2 separate regions of the Homo sapiens genome follow, and region 2 is linked to region 1. The links are contacts of gene promoters, found by promoter capture Hi-C in human tissues and cell types (Jung and others, 2019). All regions are on one chromosome and are shown on one strand. Each heading gives the region's core, a stretch centred on a gene start or on the middle of the fragment in contact. The rest is flanking DNA. Distances are from core to core; before and after follow the strand shown.

Evidence for each region. Contacts are between HindIII fragments. The study calls those that stand out against the background at their distance.
Region 2: a contact is called between a fragment that was not itself captured here and the fragment with the promoter of TMEM202 in region 1, in 1 of the 25 tissues and cell types used here (hippocampus).

The regions. Positions count from the first base shown.
Region 1 is chr15:72,396,967-72,399,661 of GRCh38, forward strand. It overlaps TMEM202 (transmembrane protein 202), which reads left to right and starts at 1,339. Exons shown (of 5, transcript NM_001080462.3): 1 at 1,339-1,441; 2 at 1,687-1,942. The coding sequence starts at 1,361. The HindIII fragment of the contact is 13,856 bases long and covers 1-2,695 here.
Region 2 is chr15:72,352,535-72,355,229 of GRCh38, forward strand. HEXA (hexosaminidase subunit alpha) reads right to left here. Exons shown (of 14, transcript NM_000520.6): 4 at 1,157-1,203; 5 at 534-644. Among named protein-coding and RNA genes, the nearest start is that of HEXA, 22 kb to the right of the region's middle. The HindIII fragment of the contact is 4,095 bases long and covers 1-2,695 here.

The DNA of each region.
Region 1 (2,695 bases), core at 89-2,588:
ACTGGGAAGTGAGGAGCCCCTCTGTCCGGCCAGCCGCCCCGTCCGGGAGGGAGGTGGGGGGTCAGCCCCCCGCCCGGCCAGCCGCCCCGTCCGGGAGGTGAGGGGCGCCTCTGCCTGGCCGCCCCTACTGGGAAGTGAGGAGCCCCTCTGCCCGGCCACCACCCCGTCTGGGAGGTGTACCCAACAGCTCATTGAGAACGGGCCATGATGACAATGGCGGTTTTGTGGAATAGAAAAGGGGGAAAGGTGAGAAAAAGAATGAGAAATCGGATGGTTGCTGTGTCTGTGTAGAAAGAAGTAGACATGGGAGACTTTTCATTTTGTTCTGTACTAAGAAAAATTCTTCTGCCTTGGGATCCTGTTGATCTATGACCTTACCCCCAACCCTGTGCTCTCTGAAACATGTGCTGTGTCCACTCAGGGTTAAATGGATTAAGGGCGGTGCAAGATGTGCTTTGTTAAACAGACGCTTGAAGGCAGCATGTTCGTTAAGAGTCATCACCACTCCCTAATCTCAAGTACCCAGGGACACAAACACTCTGCCTAGGAAAACCAGAGACCTTTGTTCACTTGTTTATCTGCTGACCTTCCCTCCACTATTGTCCTATGACCCTGCCAAATCCCCCTCTGCGAGAAACACCCAAGAATGATCAATAAAAAAATAAAAAAATTAAAAAAAAAATACAAAGATTAATTTCTCTAATGATCTGAACATAGAAACCAGCAAAGATTTCATGATGAAGATGCAAAAAGCAATTGCAACAAAAGCAAAAATTGACAAATGGGATCTAATTAAACTAAAGAGCTTCTGCATAGCAAAAGAAACTATCAATAGCGTACACAGAAAACCTACAGAAAGGGAAAATTTTTTTGCAAACTATGCATCTGACAAAGGTCTAATATCCAGCATCTGTAAGGAACTCAAATAAATTTACAAGAAAAAGACAAATAACCCCATTAAAAAGTGGGCAAAGGGCATGAACACTTTTCAAAAGAAGAAACACATGTGGCCAACAAGCATATGAGTTCCCCTTTTTTTATTTGCTATGAGGGAACTGTGTCTTATTTATTTTTGTGTCCCAGAAGCTAGCACAAAGCCTGACACACAGCCACTGCTAACAAAATGTTTGTGGATTTATTTAATAAAAGAGTTGGGAGTAGGTGGAGAATGGAGGGTGGGGAGCATCACACATACATGCACATGCTTAAAATGTGGTGATTTCTTCCTGATCTGACCAGATCAAAAATATAAAACAGAAACAGGATCTATGCCATGGGTCCTGGCCCTTTTTGCTTCTGCCAGCATGTGTGAGGAGATGCAGAGACAAATTCCGTGGCAGTTAGAGAACTAACTGCCAAGATGGAGCGAAGGGAACATTTAACCTTGACTTTCCACAGTCCTGAGGTTCCCAAAATAAAGGGGAACCGGAAATACCAAAGGGTGAGGAGGTATCTAATTGAAAGTCAGATGGGAAGAAGAGAACTTACTTAAAGGCAGGGCTACACAGAGCATCCTAAAGACAGAAAAGATCACCCTGAAAATTGTGGGGTTTTTTTTTTTTAGGAGTAGGGAAAAATATCTATAAATCAAACACACATGGGAATGCTTGAGGTAGAGAAGAGCGGGTGACCCTGGGGATCAGGGGTTATTCTTTCGGGTAGGCAATATTTCCCTCATCCTTGTAGCCTACCGTCCCTGCCAAGAAACATCCAAGTGCCTCGATGTCATGCCAAAGGCAGCAGCAGCTTATGGATCAGGCACACATCTACATCCGAACGCTCTGTGGCAGCCTCTGTAGTTTTAGCCTCCTAATGCTGATCGCCATGTCCCCACTGAACTGGGTACAGTTTCTGGTGATCAAGAATGGCCTTGAGCTCTACGCAGGACTCTGGACCTTATGCAACCATGAGCTGTGCTGGAGCCACACACCCAAGCCACCCTGTGAGTGCCACCGAATTAAATGCCACAGGCCCCACACAATTGCAGAGCTTTCTGCTCACACAAATTGGCCCTTCATGTTTCTTCCTCCAAGATCTTTTGGCCTTCACCTCTCCAAGTGCAGGATGGATCTTTCTTTGGTATCCTCAGTGTGCCCTTTCTCTCTCCTATTCCAGGTTGTTTCCTGTCCTAAATAATGGGTTATACTCTCTTTATGGGAAGAACTGTTTTTGTTTGTTGGTTGGTTTTTCGAGACAGGCTCTTGCTCTAACGCCTAGCCGAAGTGCAAAAGCACTATCATTGCTCACTGCAGCCTCCACCTCCAGGACTCAAGCAATCTTCCTGTTCAACCTCCTGAGTAGGTGGAACTACAGATGTGTGCCAACACTCCTGGCTAATTTTTAATTTTTTTAAATTTTTTTTTCTTTTGTAGAGACAAGTTCTCATTATATTTCCCAGGCTGGTCTCAAAGTCCTGGCCTCAAGTGATCCTCCCAAAGTACCAGGACTATAGGTGTAAGCCACCATGCCTGCCCTAGGAATAACTCATTTACAAGGTGTTACTGCTAAGCAATGTGATTGGTATTCTAATGTGGCTTGCAGAATTAGAAGAGAAGTGATTGATCATAGCTGGAAGATAAAGCAAATATCTTAACCTCTATTAGATTTAACTTTCAAGGTCAGCTTGTTCTTCTCCTAGCAGTGGAATAGAACTTAAATGTACGTTAGATATGTGGTATAACAAATGCCAGCTATG
Region 2 (2,695 bases), core at 105-2,604, 44 kb before region 1:
TCCCTGGAAACAGCCTGAACATTGATCTACAGTAGCCTGTAAGGTAGATTTAAGTCACTCTGTTATTTTTTGAGTCTTGGAGCAGCTCATCTTCTACATTTTTCCCAGGAGCTCATAGAATTACATACAATTTTTTTTTTTTTTTTTGAGACAGCGTCTCACTCTTTCACCCAGGCTGGAGTGCAGTGGCGTGATCTCCACCCACTGCAACCTCTGCCTCCTGGGTTCATGCGATTCTCCTGCCTCAGCCTCCCAGGTAGCTGGGATTACAAGCATGCACCACCATGCCCAGCTAATTTTTGTATTTTTAGTAGAGACAGAGTTTCACCATGTTGGCCAGGCTGGCCTTGAACTTCTGACTTCAGGTGATCCGCCCACCTCGGCCTCCCAAAGTGTTGGGATTACAGGCATGAGCCACCACACCCAGTCCATACATTCCCTCTCTAACTCTTTAAGAATTTGGAACTTGGTCTGTCCGTTGCTCCATCACCCTAGAACTCTTAAGTGTGAAGAAGGCCTTAAGGCCTGGTTACCAGAGTGTCCAGGATGCTAGAGAGTGGCAGGTAATGGCGAGATGTATCCAACAGCAAGCCCCGGTGAGGAAAGCGGGGAAAGTCCTCAATCTCAGTCTTGTTGATAAAGAACTGTGCAGAACAAACATTGAACATGTCAGTTTCAAAGGAAGCTTACTATGGGGGCACAGGGAGATGAAGACAACTCTCCCAGGATTCTTAAAAAGCCAATCTGTGACTGTTCTCAGGGTCGCTCTCTCCCTAAATGCTCCCCACCTCTATAAATGACCATAAGCAGCCACCTTCCCAGAGAGCAATTGTCCAACGCCAGCCTAATACAACTGTCCCAAACACCACTCAGCCTACAAATTCTGGATTTTCCTGTTAACATAGTTTATTTTCTTCAAAGCAGTGTGGCCTCAAGGTCATTACTAAATGATGACTCAGGGGGACCAAATTACAGTGATTCCAAACAGACCAAATCTACCAAACCAGTTTTCCACTCACATCTCCTCTTCCATTTCTACTGGGGCTATCTCAAGCCACCAGGATCCTAAGGCAAAACAAGATTTTTCTAGGATTCTCAATATTGGGATCCAACCCCAGAGATGAAAAAGGAGCCCTTTTTGAGGGTCCACACTTACTGTGCCCTCAGCAGATTTCCAAACAAGCTGGCTAAAAGTCTCCAGACCTAGGAAGATGTAGAGAGGCAGAGTAAAGACTCAGGGAGTGGAAAAAGAGATGTCTCTATTTGGAAGGTTCTCAATGTAGCAGAGCATAACATTTGGGTACACAGGGAAAATGGATGTAGTGTAGGCTTGACGATTTTTAACACTGATGAAAAGGGGATATTAGGAAGCCACTATCCATCTTTACTTCTGTATTTCATTTTGGGAGATGTCAGAGTAAGGGTTTTAGTGCCCTTCCTTACAACATACTAACCTTCAAAACCCACATACCTCTTATCTATATTTCCTGTGCCTTCACAAGAATATTGAGAAGAGAGGCCAAGACATATACTCATGAGGACAGACACAGAGACAACTCAGCCTGCAAGAGTTGGACTTTTCATGGATAACCCCTATCAGGAGCTAAGAGAGCTGAGAAAAGGGGTCCCAGAATAAATTGTGAGAAAGTGATCATAAGCTTGGGTTTCCAAGGAGCCTGGGTTCATGGCTGGACCTAGAAGATAAAAAAAATCATCCACTCTTCCTCTTCAGAGTCTAAGAAGAGACCCAGCTATAGGGAGCTGAGGTGTGGTGGACAGCAACTGCCCCAGAAGGACTCCCCTAGTCCACTGACACTGTCTCCTAGAGTCTAGCAAGGCCCACACACAGGTATGTTGAACCCAGAGTATTGTATGTTCTCAACAGCTGGGGCCCCTCTTCTGGAAACCCTGCAGAAGCCCCATGAAAATTATCAGAGTCCCCAGTTTCAAAGTGAAAGAATCCATGAGACCTCAGCAGTCACTCAGCACCTGATTTGAGCAGACTGCTAGTGTACTGTTTTGGCTTCTCCCCACTCTGACTCTGACACCCAGCATTCTGGAGTTCCAGGTCCTCCCTTACCTCTAGCCTGACTCACCATCAGCACCTGCATGAAAGGTACAAGAGGGCAGGAAGGGGAGGCAGCATGCTGTTGCTCCAAGCATAGAAGTGGAGCAAGGGAATGAAGACAAACTAAAGCAAGGTGTGGAATTCCGAGAGAGTTTCCCACATCATTCACCAGCAGAGGGTTTACCAAAAGTGGGAGAGATATTTGGCTAAGTCTGTATCTAGGCACCAAATGCCTTCTCAGTAAACCCAGAAGAAGGGCAAGGGCCAATAGTTTAGCCAGTAAACTCATTTTCTCCAGAAATAATGTAGTTCTAAATATTTCACTACTATTTATCTTTTTTTTTGCATGTATCTATTTCTTTTGTTATAGTTTTCCTTTTAAAAAAACCTTTCCAATTACATGTCTTTAGCAAGAGCTGGACAGACAGTGTCTGTGGTAGCATCATTCCCCCTGCCCCCAGCTACCTGTCCCCTGCTGGCACCTAGAACATCAGCCCACAGACTCTCCTACTGCTTCCCAGAGCCCCTGACTAGGGCAGCAGCAGTTGCTGATGCTGCACAGGGTAAAACCTGTCAACTTCCAGGGACAATTCCACAGAGACGGGAAAACACGCCAATTGTTCCCAT